Regions from separate parts of the Homo sapiens genome. Here regions 1, 3 and 4 are each linked to region 2. The links are contacts of gene promoters, found by promoter capture Hi-C in blood cells and fetal thymus (Javierre and others, 2016). All regions are on one chromosome and are shown on one strand. Each heading gives the region's core, a stretch centred on a gene start or on the middle of the fragment in contact. The rest is flanking DNA. Distances are from core to core; before and after follow the strand shown.

What was found. Contacts are between HindIII fragments. The CHiCAGO score rates a contact against its expected background, and 5 or more counts as called.
Region 1: a contact is called between a fragment that was not itself captured here and the fragment with the promoter of CCNB1 in region 2, in 1 of 17 cell types (M1 macrophages). The highest score is 5.2, in M1 macrophages.
Region 3: a contact is called between a fragment that was not itself captured here and the fragment with the promoter of CCNB1 in region 2, in 1 of 17 cell types (erythroblasts). The highest score is 5.1, in erythroblasts.
Region 4: a fragment that was not itself captured here is called in contact with the fragment with the promoter of CCNB1 in region 2 in 3 of 17 cell types (neutrophils, M2 macrophages and endothelial precursors); the score reaches 17.2 in neutrophils.

The regions. Positions count from the first base shown.
Region 1 is chr5:69,527,613-69,530,338 of GRCh38, reverse strand. The region is part of intron 4 of OCLN (occludin); the gene reads right to left. Among named protein-coding and RNA genes, the nearest start is that of SNORD13B-1, 10 kb to the left of the region's middle. The HindIII fragment of the contact is 904 bases long and covers 957-1,860 here.
Region 2 is chr5:69,165,714-69,168,680 of GRCh38, reverse strand. CCNB1 (cyclin B1) reads right to left here and starts at 1,531. Exons shown (of 9, transcript NM_031966.4): 1 at 1,398-1,531; 2 at 603-773; 3 at 338-508. The coding sequence starts at 1,418. RefSeq lists enhancers at 1,276-1,505, 886-1,851. The HindIII fragment of the contact is 10,262 bases long and covers 1-2,967 here.
Region 3 is chr5:69,469,721-69,472,819 of GRCh38, reverse strand. It overlaps the pseudogene RPS27P14. Among named protein-coding and RNA genes, the nearest start is that of OCLN, 22 kb to the left of the region's middle. The HindIII fragment of the contact is 4,373 bases long and covers 1-3,099 here.
Region 4 is chr5:69,508,880-69,511,943 of GRCh38, reverse strand. It overlaps OCLN (occludin), which reads right to left. Exons shown (of 9, transcript NM_001205254.2): 3 at 2,125-2,803. Among named protein-coding and RNA genes, the nearest start is that of OCLN, 18 kb to the right of the region's middle. The HindIII fragment of the contact is 2,696 bases long and covers 216-2,911 here.

The sequences.
Region 1 (2,726 bases), core at 159-2,658, 360 kb before region 2:
TCCCCAACCTGTATTTCCTATTATGAGAGAAATGACTTCTGAATTTCACTGTTATTACTGACAGAATGCCCCAGTCAGCTCATAAAACTCAATGATGTAGTTAAAGTTCTCTTAAAAAGGAAAAGAAAAATATTTTAATTTTCACAGTAAGATTTTTTTTTCTTAAGAGATGAGGCCTTGCTATGTTGCCCAAGCTGGACTTGAACTCCTGGACTCATGCAATCCTCCTACCCTAGCCTCCCGAGTAGCTGGGACTACAGGGTCACACCACTACATCTCACTTTTAAAGAATGAGTACTTGAGAAAACCAGCTAGGCATAATTCTAAACAGCAAAGTGTCTTTGTAACAATTTTCCCTTAAGTAACTTGAGGATATCTCTAAGAAATTAAGGACAGAAGAAAGCAGGATGAAAACACAAATCAAAGATTTCTCTAGGCCAGGTGCGGTAGCTCATGCCTGTAATCCCAGCACTTTGGGAGGCTGAGGCAGGAGGGATCACCTGAAGTCGGGAGTTCGAGACCAGCCTGGCAAACAAGGTGAAACCCCATCTCTACTAAAAATACAAAAATTAGCCAGGCATGGTGACGCACGCCCGTAATCCCAGCTACTTGGTGGCTGAGGCAGAAGAATCACTTGAACCCGGGAGATGGAGGTTGCAGTGTGCCGAGATTGCACCACTGTACTCCAGCCTGGGTGACAGATTCCATCTCAAAAAAAAGAAAAAAACAACAAAGTAACTCAGACTTACTCTTGAAATTACATTCAAAAAGGACAAGCACTCACACTGAACATGCTTAAGGAGTATGAATTATTAATTTAGGGAATATGCAGGGAAATTTTATTAAGATTCTTATTCCAATCAAGAAAGAATTTATTTCCGAAATAGCAAAATGAAATATTATTTTAAAAGATCTTCACAAGAGGTAATTATGAGGATAAATTTTTATTCAAAGCTTAATTGTACTCATTAGAAGTGTTCTGATTATGTCACTTGTGAAAAAATTCTTTGTGACAAACAACATCTAACACTCCTTGGAGAGTTAATGAAAACATCCTAAACCCCTGTGGGATGCCAACAGGAAAACAAACAGGGCAGCTCTCCTTTAGAGCAGCTCAGGTGCTCTTCTCCAAATACCTACCGTGATTCTTCCTCACCTGAGAGTAAGATGGGTCTACACCATCATGTTGGTCCCACCTTCCCCACCCTGACTCCCTGAAGTCAGAGAAGGAATAAAAAGGTCAAGAAGGAATGTTCTAGGTCACTTTGAAAGAAAATCTTCTCTCCTCCAAAACAAAGATCGGGGAAAACACTTATCCCCACTTAGATCAATTTCATATTTCATTTGGAGTTAGTAAAAGCAAAATATATGCAAATTATATGCAATTATAGCTAATCCTCATTTTTCTCCTCGCCCTAATTTCATCCCTAGTTCACACATGGGAGAGAGTCAGGCTAGACCTGCACCCATGTGGTCTAGCAATGTGCAAAAGCCATCTACCTCTAAGAAGGAAAGGGAAGTTCACCTGTTGAGTATTCAGCATGTGCCAGGCAAACCCGACTTCGTTTATTCTCACCGCCACCCAAGGAGATACAATTATCTCTATTTTCAGATGAGGAAATTGAGTTTCTACAGTTAAATTAACTTGCTCAAAGTCACAGAGAAGGTAAAGTAGCAGAGGGGAGATTTGAACCCTGGTCCATCTAGCTCCAAAGCTCAGCTCTTTCTGGCATAAAAAACTGCCACCTCAAGAATTCAAACATGGCTTGAAGTACCCATCTTGGATGGGTATTTTGACTGGTCTTTGTAACAAAGGAGACCATTCTCATTGTCTTAAACTCCTCCCCATTTTGAAAAGCTTTATTTGCCTATTAGTTTAACTTTGTAAGAGCAGCTATTGATGCAAAATTATTATGAGTATGTTTCATGCCTTTGTTTAGGTCAGCGTTTAGGAACACCTCTCTCAAAAAGGAAAGAGTAGGATTTTCCCAGCTTGGTGATTAAAGTGGAGATATACCTCAGGCATCAGAGGGAGGAGCATCTTAATCTTAAGGATCATCTCCAGGTTTACAACCTGCCCATTCCACCCTCCTCAGCCCTATGCCCTTGTACTACAGGTTCTCAACAGTAAGTGGTCTAACTCGTTTTTCCTGTTTTTTGATATTTTACACCCTCAGATACTCCCCCAAATAAAAGCTTCAAAATCGACTGGAAAGTTCTCTTAGACTTTTCTCCACCTTTGGTCACTTGAAGGCAGACGGTCCCACATCTACTAATCCCACAAATAATGAGATCGTGGACCAGGTTTGAACATGTCTGGTTATTTTACCTTGCTCAGATGGCATTTAGGATTTAGAAAACAAATTGCCCCTACCCAACTGCACGCTGTCCAAAGAAACAGTAATAATATAGACCAATGAGAACTATAAATAAAATCCTAAGCCCCCAACCGAGAAGACCCCCTTTTGGCCAAGAGTGCCCCAGAGAAATCTTAACTGAGTTCCTGGCCATGACAGAATGGGAGGTCAGACACAACTCATTTACTCCCTCCCTTCTGCGGTTCAGACACAGCTGACCAGCATTCATGTTAACATAGAGATCATCAAGACTGATAGAAATAGACTCTTTGTGGCAATAAAACACCAAATTATAAATAAGACCTAAGGCCATGCCAGACAAGGGTTAAATCCCACACCCCTACATTTGTCCTAACCATACACTATGTT
Region 2 (2,967 bases), core at 282-2,781:
TCATTAACGAAGGAATATAAGACAGTTGACAATTAAAAGCATAGATTCTGAAGCCAGACAGCCTGAGCTTGAATCCCATATGGGCCACTTACCTGTGTGACCCTGACATAACCTCTCTAAAGCCATGATTTAAATAGTAGAGGTGACAATACCTCAGAGAGTACGTGTAAAGATTATGTGAGTTAATGCATGTAAAATGTTAGGCAGAGCTTGCCTCATGCTAAGCACTCAATAAATGGTATTAATATTACTATTCATTTGAATGCTCTTGCATGTATCAGTGAAATAAGGGACAAGAAATAATCAACAGACTCTACAATGGTAAGAATAAGTTTACCAAAATAGGCTCAGGCGAAAGTTTTTCTTCTTTAACAGGCTCAGGTTCTGGCTCAGGTTCTGGCTCTGGCACTGGCTCAGACACTGGCACTGGCACCAGCATAGGTACCTTTTCAAGAGGTTTTGGTAGTTTTTTATCAATGACTTTTCCAGTAGCTGAAGGTTTTGCTTCCTGTAGATGAAACAGAGAGAATGAAATGTTTCTGCATCAAAGGCCACAGTTGGAAGGCGGGCTCTTACAGAAGTTAGGTCAGGAAGAGAGTTACCTTCTTCATAGGCATTTTGGCCTGCAGTTGTTCACTGACTTTGTTACCAATGTCCCCAAGAGCTGTTCTTGGCCTCAGTCCGGGCTTGGAGGTTGCAGCAGGGGCCGTAGGAACGCGCTTTGCGCCTGCCATGTTGATCTTCGCCTTATTTTCAGCATTAATTTTCGAGTTCTGAAAGAAGCAAGACCACTTTAAGAGCTGATCCACGAAGGCTCGAGTAAGTCAAGGGTTAATTAAGGTGGGGCACAAGGAGAAGTTCCCAGAAAGAAAGCCGACTAAAAATGGGTTCCGAGGGAAAACATGGGTCCCAGAGTCTACTCTGCGGCCGTGACAAGTCAGTTTCCGCCGACCTCTACATTTACCAATTGAGGGATTCCCTGATTAGTCCTGGCCAGCCCTAAAATACCGAGAATTTACATTTGAAAGGAAACCGAAAAAGCCTCCAATTGCAGACACCTTCTCTCTGGGAAGGGGGTTACAGAGTTGCTGGCGGGCCCACTCAGGGACCCTCTATCACTTTTTCAAAAGGTTCCCAGTCGACTCTCCACCTCCCCAAAACATTTATCCAATATCCGTCCAGTTCTCTTTCTCACCTTCCTCCCTCCATCCATCGTCCCCCACACTCTCTCACCAGGCCTGGGCCCACCTCGGCGCTCTCTTGGTGAGTCCCCTCCCACCTTCCTCCCCAAATCGCTCCTGCGGCCCTCTCCCGCTCGGGAGGCTCCCGCAGGCGAGGCAGGGAGAGCAGGCAGCAGCTAAGAAGGCCGCGTTAGTTCGCAGTCCGAAGCGGCTCACCCTGGTGACTCGGAGCGCCATGGCTTCCTCTTCACCAGGCAGCAGCTCAGCGGGGAGAAGCAGAACACCGGAGGCCCGACCAGCCAAGGACCTACACCCAGCAGAAACCAACAGCCGTTCCGCCGCAGCACGCCGAGAAGAGCCAGCCTAGCCTCAGATTTAAACCCCGCACTGCTCCCTCCTTATTGGCCTGTTCGTGGCACTCACTCCCTTCCCATTGGCGGCTGCCGGTCGCAGAGAATGCGTTTCCAGGGCGATCGCGCGAAGGCGTTCGAGAGGGGCGGGGCCACAGTGAGGCTAGGCCGGAAGGCCTGGCCAGGCTCTCACGTGGTCTGCCTCTGCGCCTGCGCTCTCGGGCAGCTGCAGCGGCCACCTGGAGAGCAGTGAAGCCAGTGCGCCGCCCACCTGGAAAGGTTAGCCGGGCAAGAGTGTGCGTTGCCAATGCCAGCTCAGGAAAGGCCTAGTGGCCTTTGGAAGGTGACAGAGGCGCGGCCACAGTCTCAGAAGTGTCAAAAGTAGTTTTGGATCTAGTGTTGCACACTTTCCATTTCTACGGTAGCAGCAATAATATAGTTCATGAAAGGCTTTAATAGACATTCTTTCATTTGATCGTTGCAACAACTCTCTGGGTTGGAGGAACTGAAGCTCAGCGACTTAGATGACTTTGCCAGGGTCACACATTAGCAACGGGGGAACTGAATTTAGGGTTTTTTTTTTTGAGGGGGAGGGAGGGGGTGTATCCGTGTTGTTTTCACAACACTGATTGTCCCTTAACAATATTACTTGATTACTTCAAGATTGTCCAGTTTCCCAAGGCCAATTGTTTTGTTTGTTTTAGCTTTCTATTTGGAAATAATTTCATACTTAGACCAGTTGCCAACAAAAATCTTGTAAGGAATATTTCTATGCCCTTTACTCAGATTCAACTATCCTTAACATGTATTTGCCTCTCATGGGAAAATCAGGAAAAACTAAACAAAAAGACATTTTACCCCATTTGCTTTGTCATTTGCTCAGATTCTCTCTAGATCCAAAGAAAAACAAGAGGGTTCTTTTTGCCTTCTACTCCTCAAAACACACCAGCAGCTCAGCAATTGGAGGGGAGGCTGAAGGACAAAAACATTGCTATCCCATAGAGCAACGGTATAAGAGCCAATAGAGACTCCTGGCGCTGGAAGTCACGGATCCGAAAGAAGGCGCCCAATCATTTGGTTTCTTTGGATCGTTATTGAGTCTTCTGTCATCATAGTTCACCCTCCTACTCGAATGCCTCCCGTGGGGCCCTTACCCTTGCTCTCCTCTGCCTGGAATGCCCGCCTCTTCTTGCATTCAAGCCCCTGGGTTCTATTCAGGTAACTCCCATTCATCCTTCAGTTCTGTGTTCAACATCCATTCTCACTCAGTCTTTCTGGGTTTGATCAATCCTTCCTCGCCCCATGCAGGGGCGAGAGGCAAGGGGCGAAGCAGGATTACTTATCCTCTGTGTTCCAGTTTAAAAATTTTTTTTTTTACTTTTTTTTGAGACGGAGTCTCGATCTGTCGCCCAGGCTGGAGTGCAGTGGTGCGATCT
Region 3 (3,099 bases), core at 388-2,887, 300 kb before region 2:
TCAATGTATTGTCAAACATAAGGGAAAATATTAGCCTTAGAAACAAAAACATAGGTGCGGTTTCCTTCAGCAAACTCCACAACTCAATAAATCAATCGGACAAATAGACTGGGTACAATGGCTCATGCCTGTAATCTCCACACTGGGGGAGGCCGAGGTGGGAGGATCACTGGAACCCAGGAATCCAGGATCAAGCTGGGCAGCACAAGACCTTATCTCCACGAAAAAAGTTTTAAAATTAGCCGGGTGTGGTGGCAAGCACCTGTAGTCCCAACTACTTGGTAGGCTGAGGTGGGAAGATTGCTTGAGCTCAAGAGGTTGAGGCTGCAGTGAGCCATGATCACACCACAGCACCCCAGCCTGGGTGACAAAGTGAGAACCTATTAAAAAAAAAAAGTTTGGGTGTGGTGGCTCACACCTGTAATCCCAGCACTTTGGGAAGCCAAGGCGGGAGGATCACTTGAGCCATGGAGTTCGAGACCAGCCTGGGCAACATAGTGAGAACCTGTCTCTATTTTTTAAAATAGTCCAAATAACCACCCATTATCTGTACCTATAATTAGCCTGAAAGTTAGAGACAACATATCATTATCATGGCCTTCTAGGGACAACATATCAAACTATCAAAGAAGTAGTGAAATTGAATATTTCTCTTGTATTCCTTCCCTTTGATATCAGTTCTGGCAACACAAGAGAAGAAAAGAGGGAAACATCCAAAGGAAATCCAGTTATGAACTCAGCTCTGTCAGAAATCAGCTGCGTAGTTTTTTTAAATTATACTTTAAGTTCTGGGATACATGTGCAGAGCATGCAGGTTTGTTACATAGGTATACATGTGCCATGGTGGTTTGCTGCACCCATCAACCCGTCATCTAGGTTTTAAGACCCGCATGCATTAGGTATTTGTCCTAATGTTCTCCCTCCCCTTCTCCCCCACCCCCCTACAGGCCCTGGTATGTGACGTTCCCCTCCCTGTGTCCATGTATTCTCATTGTTCAACTCCCACTTATGAGCGAGAATATGCAGTGTTTGGTTTTCTGTTCCCGTGTTAGTTTGCTGAGAACGTTGGTTTCCAGCTTCATCCATGTCCCTGCAAACAACGTGAATCATTCTTTTTTATGGCTGCATAGTATTCCATGGTGTATATGTGCCACATTTTCTTTATCCAGTCTATCATTGATGGGAATTCGGGTTGGTTCTAAGTCTTTGCTATAGTGAATAGTGCTGCAATAAACATGCATGTGCATGTGTCTTTATAGAATGATTTATAATCCTTTGGGTGTATACCCAGTAACAGGATTGCTGGGTCAAATGGTATTTCTGGTTCTAGATCCTTAAGGAATCGCCACACTATCTTCCACAATGGTTGAACTAGTTTACACTCATACCAACAGGGTGAAAGCATTCCTATTTCTCTCCACATCCTCTCCAGCATCTGTTGTTTCCTGACTTTTTAATGATTACCATTCTAACGGGTATACATGTGCCATGAGATGGTATCTTATTGTGGTTTTGATTTGCATTTCTCTAATGACCAGTGATGATGAGCTTTTTTTCATATGTTTGTTGACTGCATAAATGTCTTCTTTTGAGAGGTGTCTGTGCATATCCTTTGCCCACTTTTTGATGGGGTTCTTTGTTTTTTTCTTGTAAATTTGTTTAAGTTCCTTGTAGATTCTGGATATTAGACCTTGTCAGATGGATAGATTGCAAACATTTTCTCCCATTCTGTAGATTGCCTGTTCACTCTGATGATAGTTTCTTTTGCTGTGCAGAAGCGCTTTAGTTTGATTAGATCCCATTTCTCAATTTTGGCTTTTGTTGCAATTGTTTTTGGTGTTTTAGTCATGAACTCTTTGCCCATGCCTATGTCCTGAATGGTATTGCCTAGGTTTTCTTCTAGGGTTTTTACGGTTTTAGGTCTTATGTTTCAGTCTTTAATCCATCTTGACTTAGTTTTTGTATAAGCTATAAGGAAGGGGTATAGTTTCAGTTTTCTCCATATGGCTAGCCAGTTTTCCCAGCACCATTTATTAAATAGGGAATCCTTTTCTCATTGCTTGTTTTTGTCAGGTTTGTCAAAGATCAGATGGTTGTAGATGTGTGGTGTTATTTCTGAGACCTCTGTTCTGTTCCATTGGTCTATGTATCTGTTTTGGTACCAGTACCATGCTGTTTTGGTTACTGTAGTCTCATAGTATAATTTGAAGTCAAGTAGCAGCTGTGTAATTCTAAGCAAGACATTTAATCTGCCTTTACCACTCACAATAATGTCTCTGTGTTAGTCCATTTGCATTGCTATAAAGAAATATCAGAGACTGGGTAATTTATTTATTTTTTATCCAAAATGTGTTTATTGAGGCCAGGCACAGTGGCTCATGCCTGTAACCTCAGCACTTTAGAATGTCGAGGTGAGCAGATCACCTGAGGTCAGGAGTTCAAGATCAGCCTGGCCAACATGATGAAACCCCAAAATAAGCCGGGCATAGTGGCGCATGCCTGTAATCCCAGATACTCAGGAGGCTGAGGCAGGAGAATTGCTTGAACCTGGTAGGCGGAGGTCGCAGTGAGCCAAGCTCACACCACTGCACTGCAGCCTGGGCGACAAGAGTGAAACTCAGTCTCAAAAAAAAAAAAGTGTTTATTGAGATGATTTCCCACTCATCTTGATTCGGAGTGCTTTTTAATGCTGCTTCCTCCTGAAGGAACATCCTTCTGTAAGCCTTGCTTTTCTTTCTGTAGGCTGGCAGAGGACAGTGGAGCAGCCAACACACAAAATTTCTGTTAGTGCATGGCTAAAGACTGTGATGATTTTGTACCATCCTGGGCATTTACACCCATGAAGTAGGAATTGGGGCTCTGCATCAGGCACTGCTTCTTGTGTTTCCTCTTCCCCTATTCTGGAGAGGGATGAAGGAGATCCTTTGTGAGAGGCATGTTCTCCTGGGTAGGTCGTCACCGCTGGAAAAAGACTGGGTAATTCGCAAAGAAAAGAGGTGGCCGGCCACAGTGGCTCACGCCTGTAATCCCAGCACTTTGGGAGGCCGAGGTGGGCGGATCACCTGAGGTCAGGAGTTCAAGACCAGCCTGGCCAAAATG
Region 4 (3,064 bases), core at 314-2,813, 340 kb before region 2:
TCAAGTGATTCTCCTGCCTCAGCCTACTGAGTAGCTGGGATTACAGGCACGCCACCGTGTCCAGGTAATTTTTCTATTTTTAGTAGAGATGGAGTTTCACCATGTTGGCCAGGCTGGTCTCGAACTCCTGACCTCAGGTGATCCGCCCACCTTGGCCTTCCAAAGTGCTGGGATTACAGGCGTGAGCTACCATGCCCGGCCCAAAACTAAAAGCTTTTATGCAAAGGACACCATCAAGAAAGTGAAAAGATGCCTATAATCCCAGCGGTTTGGAAGGCCAAGGCAGGATCACTTGAGCCCAGGAGTTCCAGCCCAGACCGGGCAACAAAGTGAGACCCTGTCTCTACAAAAAATTTTTTAAAAAATTATCCGGGTGTGGTGGCATGCCCCTGTGGTCCTAGCTACTCAGGAGACTGAGGTAGGAGGGTCACTTGAGCCCAGGAGGTCAAGGATGCAGTGAGCTGTGACTGCACCACTGCACCCCAGCCTGGGTGACAGTGAGACTCTGTCTCAAAAACAAAACAACAACAAAAATAGCCCAATTAAAACATGGGCAAGTCTAGGCCGGGCACAGTGGCTCACACCTGTAATCCCAGCACTTTGGAGGCCGAGGCGGGCGGATCACGAGGTCAGAAGATAGAGACCATCGTGGCTAACACGGTGAAACCCCATCTCTACTAAAAATACAAAAAAAAAAAAAAATTAGCTGGGCGTGGTGGCCGGTGCCTGTAGTCCCAGCTATTCAGGAGGCTGAGGCAGGAGAATGGTGTGAACCCAGGAGGCGTAGCTCACAGTGAGCAAAGATCACACCACTGCACTCCAGCCTGGGCGATAGAGCAAGACTCCGTCTCAAAAAGAAAAAAAAAATGGACAAGTCTAAACAGCCATTTCTCCAAAGATAAGAGAGAAATGGCCAATAAGTACATGACTATATAGCTAATAACATTAGCTATAAAGAAAATACGAATCAAAATCACAATAAAGCACCACTTCACTTCTCACCCATCAGCATGGCTAGAATCAGACAATAACAAGTGTTGGTGAGGATGTGGAGAAATTGGAACTTTCATACATTTCTGATGTGAATGTAAAATGATGCAAACTCTTTGGAAAAACTCTGGTAGCTCCCCAAAAGATTAAAGAGTCACCATATGACCCAGCAATTCCACCCCTAGGTATAACCCAACTCAAGAAATCATTAAAACATAGGTTCACACAAAAACGTATACAAGAATGTCTATAGCATGATTCTTTTTTTTTGAGATGGAGTCTTGCTCTGTCGCTCAGGCTGGAGTGCAGTGGCGCAATCTCAGCTCACTGCAAGCTCCGCCTCCCGGGTTCACGCCATTTCTTCTGCCTGAGCCTCCCGAGTAGCTGGGACTACAGGTGCCTGCCACCATGCCCAGCTAATTTTTTTTGTATTTTTAGTAGAGACGGGGTTTCACCTTATTAGCGAGGATGGTCACAATCTCCTGACCTCATGATCCGCCCGCCTCAGCCTCCCAAAGTGCTGGGATTACAAGCATGAGCCACCGTGCCCAGTCTAGCATGATTCTTAATAGCCAATGTAGACACAAATGTCTATCAACTGATAAATAAAATGTGGTTTATCCACACACTGGAATATTAGCAATAAAAAGGAATGAGAGAATGGCACAAGCTATGACATGGGTAAACCTTAAAAACATTATGCTACGTAAAAGAAGCCCATCACAAAGACCACATTGTGTGATTCCATTTATATGAAATACCTAGAGAATAGACAAATTTATAGATGTAGGATTAGTGGTTGCCTAGGGCTAAGAATGGTTAGGGAAATGAGGAGTGACCGCTAACGGGTACAAGTTTCTTTTTAGGATAGTGAAAATGTTCTAAAATTGATTGTGGTGATGGTGGCACAATTCTGTGAATATATTAAAAACCACTGAACTGTTATTTAAGTAATCAAATTACATGGTATGTTAATCATATCTTAATGAGACTCAGCCCCTCCCCCAGATTTAATTAGAAGTGGAGCCTTGTCATCAATATTTTTTAAGAGTTTCCAGAGTGATTCTATCACATATCTCAAGTTGAAGGCCTCTGCTAAGGAGATGGAGAAAAAACCCAAAACACCACTCATACCTCCTGGGGATCCACAACACAGTAGTGATACAAATACTGATCCACGTAGAGTCCAGTAGCTGCAGGTGTATAAAATTGGTTGCAGAGGGCATATATTTGTGAACCATATAGAGATCCAGAAGACTGAGCAGTTGGGTTCACTCCCATTATATAGACAATTGTGGCAATAAACACCATGATGCCCAGGATAGCACTCACTATTATCACACTTAAGTAGTATCTTCTTGTTCTGGACATTTCAGATCTTATAACACTGGTAACAAAGATCACCAACGCGGCAATGAAACAAAAGGCAGCCATGGCCAACATGAAGCCCTTTGCTGCTCTTGGGTCTGTATAGCCTCCGTAGCCATAGCCATAACCATAGCCATAGCCATAGCCACTTCCGTAGCTACCAAAGCCACTTCCTCCATAAGGGTAGCCTACACTACCTCCTAAAAGGGAAGTTCCATAGCCTCTGTCCCAGGCAAGCGTGGAGGCCACACAGGCAAAGATGGCAATGCACATCACAATAATGAGCATAGACAGGATCCGAATCACTCCTGGAGGAGAGGTCCATTTGTAGAAGTGAAGAATTTCATCTTCTGGGTAAAAAGAGTAGGCTGGCTGAGAGAGCATTGGTCGAACATGCATCTCTCCACCATATATGTCATTGCTTGGTGCATAATGATTCGGTTTGCTGAAATGAACATGAAAATAATTTCAAGTTAGCATTTTTTGGTAGTAAGCAGAAAGAACACAACTTATTTGGAATAATTTAAACCATTGGGTAAATGAAACTAAAGCTTATCTGTGCACAGGAATCACCTGGAGGGCTTGTTAAAACATAAGATTATTGGCCTCTAGCCACAACCCATTCTGCTCAGACATTTGGGTTATCTCTGTTTGGGGGTATTGTAAACAGTTTAACTATAAACATCCTTGAATGTGTATTCTGGTA